2 separate regions of the Homo sapiens genome follow, and region 2 is linked to region 1. The links are contacts of gene promoters, found by promoter capture Hi-C in blood cells and fetal thymus (Javierre and others, 2016). All regions are on one chromosome and are shown on one strand. Each heading gives the region's core, a stretch centred on a gene start or on the middle of the fragment in contact. The rest is flanking DNA. Distances are from core to core; before and after follow the strand shown.

Evidence for each region. Contacts are between HindIII fragments. The CHiCAGO score rates a contact against its expected background, and 5 or more counts as called.
Region 2: a contact is called between a fragment that was not itself captured here and the fragment with the promoter of BUD13 in region 1, in 1 of 17 cell types (monocytes). The highest score is 6.3, in monocytes.

Annotation. Positions count from the first base shown.
Region 1 is chr11:116,767,918-116,774,244 of GRCh38, reverse strand. It overlaps BUD13 (BUD13 spliceosome associated protein), which reads left to right and starts at 1,258. Exons shown (of 10, transcript NM_032725.4): 1 at 1,258-1,423; 2 at 4,023-4,116. The coding sequence starts at 1,281. ZPR1 (ZPR1 zinc finger) reads left to right here. Exons shown (of 14, transcript NM_003904.5): 14 at 1-446. It overlaps BUD13-DT (BUD13 divergent transcript), which reads right to left and starts at 774. Exons shown (of 2, transcript NR_186226.1): 1 at 734-774; 2 at 40-335. RefSeq lists an enhancer at 710-799 and a silencer at 920-1,119. The HindIII fragment of the contact is 6,866 bases long and covers 1-4,160 here.
Region 2 is chr11:118,410,990-118,417,949 of GRCh38, reverse strand. LOC100131626 (a long non-coding RNA gene) reads left to right here. Exons shown (of 4, transcript NR_046370.1): 3 at 526-609. Among named protein-coding and RNA genes, the nearest start is that of ATP5MG, 13 kb to the right of the region's middle. The HindIII fragment of the contact is 6,277 bases long and covers 2,279-6,960 here.

The DNA of each region.
Region 1 (6,327 bases), core at 9-2,508:
AATTTGCTTAAGTGCCCCCCCACCGAACTACTACATAAATTAGTGAAGGATGTTTTACTTAATTTGATTTTGGTAATCATTACACAATGTATAATTATATCCAGTCATCACATTGTACACCTTGAATATATATAATTTTTTGTCAAATAATAAAGCTGGGAAGAAAACGATAAAACTGACAATCTAACATATATGATGAGGTAAAAAGATCTGGTATTTCAAGAAATTTGGATGACCTCTTGCACCCCACTTCGCTAGCCTCTACTCCCTAGAGTCATGTTCTGACTATGTGAAGTTGAGCAACTTCCTTAATCTTGCCACGCTTCAGTTCTTATCTGTAAAATATGATAATGAAACGATTTGAGAATTGTGAGGGTTAAATGAGATAATTCAGGTAAAGCTCTAAACCCCCTGCAAAGAATAAAGTCTTTTCTTTCCCCCCAAAACTTGAGTGTTAGAATTCATTCTCTCTGGTTTCTCTCTTTTACTATGCTAAAAAATGATCCAGGTCCGTCCTTCTCATTGGCAAGATTGTTTTACAGTTTCCTTCAAGAGATAACTGGGGGCTACTTGTAATAGAACACTAGAAGAGTTACACAGGTCTTAGAAACTACGTTTTTCATAGTAATTATGTTGGTTTGCACTTCCTGGCTTCCTTTCTTGGACGGTAGGTACCTGGAAGCCTAGTGGAGCAGATTCCCCCCACTTAAAGATACTTATAAAAATAACGAACATAGTTCCGATGACCATGTGCCCAACACCGCTCTGCGCACTTCACACAGTAATATCATCTCAGCCTGTGACCGTTCCGAGTTAGGTGCCGGGATTCTCCCTGTTTTGTGATAACTTGCCCGAGGTCGTACAGCTAGCCAGCTATGGAACCAGTATTCAAACTCGGCTACGCTGCAGCCCGTGGCCCTCCACTTTCTTGCTCGTGCTCTGGAGTTTAGGCGGCCGATGGGGGCGGGGTCCTTTGGGTCAGGTTGTGGCCTCATAGAACAGCGCTTGCTGCGGTTGGATGGATGGGTGGGTGGGTGGGTGAGTGAATGAAGAGAAGAAACCTGGTGGCGTCGTCCCAGGGCTGTGGAGCGCCCCGAAGGTGCGCACGTCCCTGGCTAGCCTGCGAGCGCGTCCCGGTGGCCGCACCTGCCAGCCGCGCGATTCTTAGCACTCTCCGCCACTTCCGGCCGTGGCCCCGCCCTGTCGGGTGGCTGGCGTCCGTTACGCGTTGAGGCATTTTGTCCCCAGCGCCGACCCGTCTCTCTGCCCCCGCCGCTGCCATGGCGGCAGCTCCGCCGCTTTCCAAGGCCGAGTATCTGAAGCGTTACTTGTCCGGGGCAGATGCCGGCGTCGACCGGGGATCTGAGTCCGGTCGCAAGCGTCGCAAAAAGCGGCCGAAGCCTGGCGGGGCCGGCGGCAAGGGGTGAGTTGGTACCGGCCGGGGCGGGGCCTGCGACGTCTAGCCACCCCTTCCCAACTCCGCCCTCGGCCGCCCGGCAGTTCCTTCCCTCTTGGCGGGTCTCTCGGCTTCTCCGCCGACCCCTGCTCATGCTCAGGGCCCCACTCACATCGCTTGAGGCCCCCCGCCTTGCCTCTGCCGCCCCGCTTACATCTCGAGCCTCTGAGCAGTAGCGTCAGTGCGTTAAAGCCGGGGTGTAACTTTGATTACTCTTTTCCCGCCTTGGTAGACTTCCGTCCTCTCCCATAGAGAATGAATATTGTGCCTCGAGAATAATGGAGCGGATTCAAAGCCTCTGTGCTTGGATCTTTAGGGCCCGGTACCTGCCTGTGGGGATTCCCAGATCCCAAGGACTTGGTTCTGAATCAGAGACCTTTGATCACCTCCTGTTACTCTTAGTAATAGTCCTAACGTGAGAAGCTAACATTTATATAGTTATACTTTTCTTGCCAGGCACCATTATAAGAAATTTAAACATATATAAGTTTATTTAAGCCTCACCACACTACCATGAAGTGGGTATTATTTTCATATGGGACAACTTTGTGGCCCAGTGTAGTGGGCCCTACCAAATCGTTTTCCACCCAGAACCACAGAATGTGACATTTAGAAATAGGGTCTTTGGAGATGTAATCAGTTAAGATGAGGTCATACTTGATTAAGGTGGGTGCCAAATCCAAGATGACTGTTTGCCTTTTAAAAAGAGGGAAGTATGGATACAGACACAGCAACAAAGGAAAAACGACCATGTCTAGATGAAGGCTGAGATTGGATTGGATTTATGTTGCCAAAAGCCAAGGTATGCTTGGGGCTACCAGAAGCTGGGAGAGGCAAGGAAAGATTCTCTGCTAGAGACTTTCCAGGGAGGATGGCCTTGCAGACACCTGGATTTCAGATTGCTAGCTTCCAGAACTGCGAGAGAGTTTCTGTTGTTTTATGCCACGCAATTTGTGGTACTTTGTTACAGTAACCCTAAGGCACTGAGATACCCAGTGAAGTCACATTGTTCTAAAGAACTAGTCCAAGTTCTTTTCTGGTTTGGTGCTTGCCTTATTATTGTCTTCGTCTTTCTGCCTCGCTGACTTGTGTGGATCCTTTGGAGGCAGTGCCATGTGATGAAAGTAGCTTGAGTGTTGGAGCAGCACTGGTCAGAGTTCGAATCCTAGCTGTGCCACTTTATAGGCTGTGTACCCTTGGGCAAGGTGTTTCATCTCACTGAGCTGCAGTTTCCTTATCTTTAAAATGAGAATAATAATAATAATGGTTTTATTAAGTGGTGGTTGTGATTAGAGGGATTGCATTAAGTGACCCTGGCTTTTTGAATAACTTCACATCATGGCAGTCATTGTTATTATTTGGGCTCAGCTATATAGTTTATCCACGTAACAAACATTTATTGAATATTTCGTATTCCAGTTACTGTAGGGTGTTGAGGATGCCTCTGTGAACAAAAAAAACATAGTCCCTGTTCTTGTGGAGCTTATAGATTAATGGGAATACAGGCTTTAAGCAACTAATTACACAACTAATCGATATATTTTCTTTATGATAAATGCAATGAAAGTATTCCAAGAGTTTTTAACAAGGGTTCTTAGTCTTGAGTGAGTGTGGGATGGTGAGGGAATTGGGTGAAGCAGTCAAGAAAAGTTTGCCAAAGGAAGTTAAATTTGTGTTAGGACCTGAAGAATGAGGAAGAGTTTCCTGGAATGAGAAAGAGTTTCCTAGCACTTTGGGAGGCCAAGGCGGGTGGATTGCTTGCATCTAGGAGTTTGAGACCAGTCTGGGCAACATGGTGAAACCCTGTTTCTACAAAAAATACAAAAAAGTAGTCAGGCACAGTGGCACATGCCTGTAGTCCCAGCTACTTGGGAGACTGAGTAGGGAGAATAACTTAACCCCGGGAAGTCAAGGCTGCAGGGAGCCATGATGGTGTCCCTGCACTCCAGCCTGGGCAGCAGTGTGAGACCCTGTCTCAAAAAAGAAAAAGACTAGGGCCGGGCGCGGTGGCTCACGCCTATAATCCCAGCACTTTGGGAGGCCAAGGCGGGCGGATCACGAGGTCAGGAGATCGAGACCATCCTGACTAACACGGTGAAACCCCGTCTCTACTAAAAATACAAAAAATTAGCCAGGCGTGGCAGTGGTCGCCTGTAGTCCCAGCTACTCAGGAGGCTGAGGCAGGAGAATGGTGTGAACCCGGGAGGCAGAGCTTGCAGTGAGCTGAGATCGTGCCACTGCACTCCAGCCTGGGCAACAGAGCGAGACTCCGTCTCAAAAAAAAAAAAAAAGAAAAAGATTGAAAAGAGTAGATCAGGCAGAGGGAAGGAACTGCATATGTGAAAACTGATGTGATAGGAACTTGGCTCCTTTCTAAGCACCAAAGGATGACCAGGGAGGTGTTCAACCAAGGAAGTAGCAGTAGGAGATGAAGTTGACCTTGTAGACAAAGACTGGACCATGCAGGATCCTGTAGGATTTTGAACTTTATTTTAAAACCAATAGATAAATGTTTTTATGCTGGTATCCTAGAATGACTCTTTTTGATCTTCTTATTCTCATTTAGAATGCGGATTGTGGATGATGATGTGAGCTGGACAGCTATCTCCACAACCAAACTAGAAAAGGAGGAAGAGGAAGATGATGGAGATTTGCCTGTGGTATGTATCTTTGGGGCTGTCAGGATTTTGAAATGAAGCAAGCTTCTCAATTTCCTTTTTTTTTTTTTTTTTGAGACGGAGTCTCGCTCTGTCACCCAAGCTGGAGTGCAATGGCATGATCTTGGCTCACTGCAACCTCCGCCTCCCGGGTTCAGATGATTCTCCTGCCTCAGCCTCCTGAGTAGCTGGGATTACAGGCACCCGCCATCATGCCTGGCTAATTTTTTTTTTTTAATTTTTGTAGAAATGGGGTTTCACCATGTTGGCCAGGCTGGTCTTGAACTCATGACCTCAGGTGATCCACCCACCTTGGCCTCCCAAAGTGCTGGGATTACAGGCGTGAGCCATTGTGCCAGGCCAAGCTTCTCAAATTTATTTTTCCAGCTTAGGGTAGATTTGTAGGGGGGTTAGTTGAGAACAGAAAAGAGGTGACAGTTTCCAAAGAGCTGTTTAAAATAGTTTTCTTTGCTGATGCCTATACACCAACTTGTCTCTTTATGGAGGGTCCATCAGCCTAGAAATGAGATGGATCACAGAGAGAGGACTTCTCGACATCAGTGTTAGAGTAATGATGAGACTTAGCTGTGGTTCATTTTGTTGGAATCTTTCTTAAAAACAATGCTGAGGTTCAGTTATAGGGAACTTTTTATTTGCTCCTTTTTTCAGTGCTTTAACTAAGCTTTCAAATTGTATATTCTTGCCTAAGTACTGGAGATATGTAGATTAATAGAACATAGCTGTATTTTAGAGATTATACCCTAGAATGAAAAACTGAATTTCAGATAAATTTCAACAGTATGGTAAATGTTGGGGATGTTTCACATACGTACCAAGTACCATTAGAGCCCGGGGAGGTAGCATACTTTGTATTCTGTTGGGAGATATCCTGAAAGATGTAAATACTGAGTTTTGAAGGGTAAGTAAGAGCCAGGTGGACAAAATCATAGGCAAATGACCTCCCAGTGGTTCATGAAACCATTGCTGAGAATTTCTGAGAAACAAAGTGGAAAGGAGAGCTGTAGATAGGCTGAATTCCACTAAAGTTGGTAAAGATGGATTCCAGTGAGTATTTAATATTAATTCCCAGCAAAATTCTTTTTTTTTTTTTTTTTTTGAGACGGAGTCTCACCGTGTTGCCCAGGCTTGAGTGTAGTGGTATGATCTCGGCTCACTGCAAGCTCTGCCTCCTGGGTTCACACCATTCTCCTGCCTCAGCCTCCTGAGTAGCTGGGACTACAGGGGCCCACCAACACGCCCGGCTAATTTTTTGTGTTTTTTTTTGTATTTTTAGTAGAGACAGGGTTTCATCATGTTAGCCAGGTTGGTCTTGATCTCCTGACCTCGTGATCCGCCCACCTCGGCCTCCTGAAGGGCTGGGATTACATGTGTGAGCCACTGCACCTGGCCAATTCCCAGCAAAATTCTAAAATAGATTATTTAAAAGAGGGCTTGCTAGTAATTAGAAGGGAAATAGTGATCTTAGGGAGCCAATTTAGTTTTGGTCAGAAGAAGTAAATATTAACAATGTTTGTTGTTTTTTTTTAATTTTATAAAAGCAATGCATATTTATTACAGAATATTTGGGAATTAAAAAAAGTTTAAAGTTTTTAAAAGAATAAACACTTGCATGTTACCATCCAAAGATAACTGCTAATACTTGGATGCATATCTCTTCAGGTTTTTCTCTTTAGAGATTATACACGCTTGTATTTTATTTTTTTGAACATAATTGGGATCATATTGTACATAGGGTTTTGGAGTCTACTCCTCTGCTAAATAATATGTTGTGGATACTCTGGTAAGACCTTAAAATATTCTTTGAGTGTATGATTTTTAACGGTTATGTAGTAGTTCAATATATATATTTTATCTGTTCTGTTACTGGATACATGGATTGTTTCCACTTATAAAATATCATACATCGTTGTACATAAATCATTTGTAGAAATCAGTTTATTTCTTTATTCCCATAAAATGAAATGAGTGGATCAAAGGGTATGGTTCGCTTTAGTTATATTCCCATGTTGCTTTCCAAAAGGTGCTACCAATTTACACTCCCACTAGAGGTGATGAGAATGCCAGTTTGCCTACGTCGTCAATATTAGAGCACTATTATTATTATTATTATTATTATTATTATTATTATTATTATTTTTGAGACAGGGTCTTGCTCTGTTGCCCAGGCTGAAATACAGTGGTGTGATCATGCCC
Region 2 (6,960 bases), core at 4,168-6,667, 1.6 Mb before region 1:
CATTTTGTTTCAAATTTTCTTAGGTGAGTGGGTTGGACTAACCTGTAAGGCTTTTGCTGAAGTTGAGATGAACAAATAAGGAAAATATGCAACTATAGATTGTTTTAAGAGAGGTGGGAAAAAACCCAACGGATTTTGTTGCTGATTTGTGTCCTTAGGACTTTCCACAAATAACTTTGAGAGATTTACTACTTAGTCCTTAGAGGCAGCTTCCTTCTGGGATGGGTGGATATGAGGCGTGCGGTGGGGTCAGATGGTGATGGGAGAGCAAAGGAACACAAAGGTCCCAAATCAAGGCCCATTTGGCTTCAGTGTTTACCCTCAGTGCAGTGGGGGTGAAATTTGGAGCCTAGGGTGAGGTAGAAATTAGTTTCCCTGTTGCAGTAGTAACTTGGGTATCAGATAATAAAGTATATTTCTGCCAGCATATTCTAAAGGCAGATGAAACTATACAGGGGTTTAAGGTAAAGCTATAATGAGCAAAATATCACCCCTGACTTTTTAAAATTTCATTTTACGTTCCAGGGTACATGTGCAGGATGTGCAGGTTTGTTACATAGGTGAACGTGTGCCATGGTGGTTTGCTGCACCTATCAACCCATCACCTAGGTAATAAGCCCAGCATGCATTAGTTGTATTTCCTGATGTTCTCCCTCCCTCTGCCCTCCCCTTGACAGGCTCCATTGGGTGTTGTTCCCCTCCTTGTGTCCATGTGTTGACATTGTTCACCCTCACTTGTAAGTGAGAACATGTGGTGTTTGATTTTCTGTTCCTGTGTTAGTTTGCTGAGGATAATGGCTTCCAGCTCCATCCCCAACCCTGCAAAGGACATGATCTCATTCTTTTTTATGGCTGCATAGTATTCCATGGTGTATATGTACCACATTTTCTTTATCCAGTCTATCACTGATGGGCATTTGGGTTGATTCCATGTCTTTGCTATTGTGAATAGTGCTGCAATATGTATGTATCTTTATATGTACCTAGTACATCCACTTTCAAAACAACTTAATCACCTTTTTGGAGAAGTTTTTTTCTGATTTTCCCAAACTGCTTCCCTTTACCCTCCTGTTGATGCTTCTTGTAGCACACATCATTGTATAATAGAATGATTTATATAATTTATAATGATATAACAGAATGATTTATGTTAGAATGATTCATATTCTATAGAATAGAATAGAATAGAATGATTTATATTCCTTTGGGTATATACCCAGTACTAGGACTGCTGGTTCCAATGGTATTTCTGGTTCTAGGTCTTTGAGGAATCGCCACACTGTCTTCCACATCACCCCTGACTTAATGTTTACTTGGTCATTATTACTTTCATTTTTTCCCCAATCTGGGGCTTACATGACTTCCTTTCCATTGTTCTACCTGGAGGTCACTAAAATTGGTAACCACTCTTCCACCATCACCTTATAATTCACTGTCTTAGAACTACATTTATTCAGTTGTTCTATTAGGTTCCCCACTCTCTTGAGACCCAGAGTCAGATGACATCAGGTAAAAATGCAGGCTGTCCTTAGGGGAAACAGTAGCTATTTTAACAAGCAGGCTATAATTCAAAACCACACAACAGTATTTAATTGCTTTTGGATTTGACAACACTGGAATGCATTAAAACTTGGAGCCTCTGAAGATAACCTTCCTAACTTCATGCAAGAAGTCCAAGGTATAGTTCTTATAAAAATCCATCCATAGGTTGCATATGTAAAATCCTCTGAGGAAAATGGTGGTGCTATAAACCTTTACATGATGAGCTTCTTTCAGCTGTAACAAGGATATAAATCAGGAAATGCGGGCTTGGCAAAGAAAGAGTTAAGATGATCAATTTCTAAGGAATTTCAGGGATTTTCAGATTTCAGGCTTGGTCTTTTATAAAGGATCTTCTGCTGCCTACCTCCTGGTTCTCCCCTGCTAGACCTTACATATGCAAAGGTAGCTTTGCATTAGCTAGCACAGTAGAGAAGGCTAATCAGAGATCCACATCTCTGTTTCAGAGTTGGAGGTTGAGATGCAAGAGTGACTCAGCTGGCATCAGCTCTGTAGCAGTCTCAGCCTGCAGGCCTTCAGGAAGTAAGTCCTCCAGGCCTGCATCTCCCTCTGTGGCAAATTGCCACTAAACTCTGCTGTTTATCAACCCAGTACCAAACACAGTAGGATGAGTCTGCTGTTTCACTGTTTTCAACAAACCCAAAAACACAGAAGCCAGATTACATGATGGGATAGTATTACAACAGTGTATTAGATACAGTATCTCCCTTAAGAAGCTTACAGTTTAGTAAGGAAATAAATGTAAATATAGCATTAGAGTGCAATGATGTGTGCTACAAGAAGCATCGACAGGAGGGTAAAGGGAAGCAATTCGGGAAAATCAGAAAAAAACTTCTCTGAAAAGGTGATGAAGTGGTTTTGAAAGTGGATGTGCTAGGTAGAAAGTGCCAGGAATGAAGGCAGAGGGGAAAACATTTATATAGATTAATTAATGGATACATTCACTTTATTCATCACATTTGCATTGAGTGACTTCTGTGTGCTTGCAGCATGTGATACGAACCATATAGTACAGGCAAGGTGGTGTATATATATAGGTGGAGATATGGTAAGATGAGATAATGATGTTGTGGGAGTAACTGGAAGTTCTCCAATTGCTTAAATTTTCTCAGTCAAGTAGGAAGTAAGGTCGTCTGTTGAAGGATGTAATTGCGGTCTGAAGAAACATAATATGATTGGCTGGTAGTATTAAGTGCTCTCTTAAGGTTCTGACCATCATGAATATAAAGTGAGACTACTTTTTTTTTTTTTTTTTTTGAGACAGAGTCTCGCTGTGTCGCCAAAACAGGAAGGAGTGTAGTGGTGCAATCTCGGCTAATTGCAACCTCTGCCTCCCAGGTTCAAGCGATTCTTATGCCTCAGCCTCCCAAGTAGCTGGGACTACAGGTGCGTGCCACCATGCTCAGCTAAATTTTGTATTTTTAGTAGAGAGCGGGTTTCACCATGTTGGCCAGGCTGGTCTCAAACTCCTGGCCTCAAGGGATCCACCCAAAGTGTTGGGATTACAGGCGTGAGCCACTGCACCTGGCCAGACTAGTTACTTTGTTTTCTCCAACTTCATTTGGCTGCATAGGTGCAGAGCAGGTAGACAGCTGAATTAAGCCAAGGAGGTGGTTTTGGTAAGTGAGTACAACGAAGTGAGTGAGAGGCAAGGAAGTTGAAGGTGTATTCAAGAGAATGCTTATGATTGATCATGGAACCTAAGTTGTAACAGGAGAGAAAAGCTGAAATCAAGGGGGTGAGGGAGATGGTAGGATCAATTTATTGATGGTCATGAAAACTCTGAATTTGTGTAGTTATTTGACAGAATGGGCTAGGAAGGTCATAGGTGGTCAGAGAGAGGGATGCATGAAATTGAAACTAAGATGGTTGATGTTTTTGGTAAAAAGATGGGAATCAGTATTTAAGGAAGGTGAAAGGTATTAACTGTTAAGTTTTTAGGGAATCAAAAGGCCAGGTTGGTTGAAGGATCATTTATGTTAATAGTTCTCAAACTTTAGCATGCATTAGACTTATATATGGAAAGATAATTAAAACACAGATTGTGCTAGGTGCAATGACGTATGCCTGTAGTCCTAGCTACTTGGGAGGCTGAGGGAAGAAGATTGCTTGAGCTCAGGGGTTTGAGACCAGTCCAGGTAACACAGTGAGACCATCTCTAAAAAAATGCAAAACAACACAACAAAAAAAATACAGATTGCAAGATCTCACTCCTAGTTTCTGGGGTAGAGCCTGGTAATTTTCATTTCTAAATTCCCTGGTGATGCTGATGCTGCTGTGGTCCAGGGACTGTACTTTGGAAACTACTGACCCATGTGTATGTTGAAATTGCAATTGTCAAGAATTAAGATAGAAGTAGTGTTATAAAGTGACAGTGAGCCAGGACACAAAATTGGCAAGAAATAAAGGGGACCAGCTGCGGTGGCTCACGCTTGTAATCCCAGCACTTTGGGAGGCCAAGGTGGGGGATTCTTTCAGCCTAGGAGTTTGAGACCAGCTTGGGCAATGTGGCTACCCTGTCTCTACAAAAAAATAGCCGTGTGTGGTGGCATGCGCCTGTAGTTCCAGCTATTTGGGAAGCTGAGATGGGAGGATCTTGATTGAGCCTGGGAGGTTGAGACTGCAGTAAGCTGTGATCATGCCACTATACTCCAGCCCAGGCGACAGAGCGAGACCCTGTCTCAAAAGACAAAAAGAAAGAAAGGGGAATGAACTGATTAGTGGAAAATTGCAACAATCAGGGACAGTGGATACACACTCTAATAACATGATATTTAAAGCTAGGTTTTATGGGGATTGGTTAGAAATGGTGGCTGAAACAATGGTTGGCAGCTAAGTGAGATTAAGATGAGGCAGAAGGGAGATTGCCAAGGGCTTTGCATGTTAGTATTTTATTATATCAGGGCCTTTTGTTTGGTAAACAGGTCTAGTGTAAGTTCCCTGCTAAGGGATTACCTCTGGTGGAACTGTTACTGAATTCATCACAAGGGTGATCACAATCTTATGTCCTAGTAGAAACAAAAACCACACTAATTAGGAAATAGTAAGTCCTACTAAACTACCTATCACTTTACATAAGATTAGGGAGGTTGATATCTAATGAGACAAGAAATCTTAAATAACTTAATAGTAGGGCAAAGCAGGACCAAGAATATATAATACAGAATGGAACTGTGGAAATACAAAGCAGGATCCACAAGCTGGTCACAGGTAGAGTCAGGGCACAGACTACAACACAGGATCATGACCTGGGCCCAGCTTATGCTGCCACCACTTATTGCTCTTGGGATCCTAGCCAAATTGTTTTATGTTTTCTGCTCAGTTCCTCTCTTGTTAAATGGTATATCATTTATGGCACGTGCTTCAGAGGAAAGTTGAGGGCTAAATGAGATAGTTGGTGCAAGTGCTTTGAAAAGGTAAAGTGTTATACAAATATGAAATATTTAAAAAGAAAGTATTGAGCTATCCTTAGAAATCAGGGTAGAATACTTAGGTATGTAAGAGATGAATGGAAAAGAGGAGAAACTGTTAATCTAAGAACAATGCTGAGATGTATAAAACAAAGGATGAGGCCGGGCGTGGTGGCTCACTCCTGTAATTCCAGCACTTCGGGAGGCTGAGGCGGGCAGATCACGAGGTCAAGAGATCGAGACCATCCTGGCCAACATGGTGAAACCCTGACTCTACTAAAAATACAAAAAATGAGCTGGACATGCTGGTGCGCGCCTGTAGTCCCAGCTACTTGGGAGGCTGAGGCAAGAGAATCTCTTGAACCCAGGAGGTAGAGGTTACAGTGAGCCGAGATGGCACCACTGCACTCCAGCCTGGCGACAGAGTGAGACTCCGTCTCAAAAAAAAAAAAAAAAAAGGATGGAATATGCAATGTGGACAGTTTCACATTAGTTTTTTTTTTTTTTTTTTTTTTTGAGACCAAGTTTCGCTCTTGTTGCCCAGGCTGGAGTGCAATGGCATGATCTTGGCTCACTGCAACCTCCGCCTCCCAGGTTCAAGAGATTCTCCTGCCTCAGCTTCCCAAGTAGCTGGGATTACAGGCATGTGCCACGACGCCCGACTAATTTTGTATTTTTAGAAGAGATGGGGTTTCACTATGTTGGTCAGGCTGGTCTCCAACTCCTGACCTCAGGTGATCCGCCAGCCTTGGCCTCTCAAAGTGCTGGGATTACAGGTGTGAGCCACCGCACCCGGCCTCACATTAGCTTTTTTTTTTTTTTGAGACGGAGTCTCGCTCTGTGCCAGGCTGGAGTGCAGTGGTGCCATCTCGGCTCACTGCAACCTCTGCCTCCTGGATTCAAGCGATTCTCCTGCCTCAGCCTCCCAAGTAGCTGGGACTACAGGCATGTGCCACCACGCCCAGCTAATTTTTGTATTCTTATTAGAGATGGGGTTTCACCATGTTGGCCAGGATGGTCTTGATCTCTTGACCTCGTGATCCGCCCACCTCGGCCTCCCAAAGTGCTGGGATTATAGGCGTGAGCCACCGCACTTGGCCACATTAGTTTTGAAATGATGAAAGCCTCAACAAAAAGCCTCATTTACTTATATATAGATAGCAGTTTCCTTAGGAATAAACCTTTGGACCACAGTGACAAATATTTGCATAACTGGCTTTGACTTAACCATTATGTTCTCTCTCCTCGTGATGCCTACTACTAAATGAGTACTTCTACTTTTACATACTGAGAAAATTGTAGGACCACATGCACTGTTATATGAACCCTATGCAAGTTTGCAGGTTTCTATTCTGGCTTTTGTTACATGGAATTGAAATTACCTGCTGATGTTAGACTACCCAAGTTACTTCAGGGCAGGACTGTGCCTTGTCAAAATCTTTCAATGGCTTTCTATTCAATGTCCTTAAAGAAGTCCAAGCCTTAACAGGCATAAAATACAATCTGGTCCCCACCATCTCTGGCTTTACCTCTCAGTGCTCTCCTCTGCCTGGCAATTTGGCCACACTTACACTCTCAGACCCTCAATGTACTACACTTTTTCTGACAGTAGCTTTTGCACAGGTTGTTTCACTTGGCCAGCATACCTTGCTCCATTCTTCTTGGCTAATGTACTTTCCTTGTTTATATAGCTACTATTTTCTCTGACAACCTCCCTTGAACGTCCTTCTCGTCTGGGTTAGCTTTTCTTTTTTCTTTTTTTTTTTTTTGAGACAGAGTCTCCCTCTGTCGCCCAGGCTGGAGTGCAGTGGTGTGATCTCGGCTCACTGCAACCTCCACCTCCCAGGTTCAAGTGATTCTACTGCCTCAGCCTCCCGAGTAGCTGGGACTACAGGTGTGTGCCACCACGCCTGGCTAATTTTTGTGTTTTTAGTAGAGACAGGGTTTCACTATATTGGCCAGGCTGGTCTCAAACTCCTGACCTCATGAT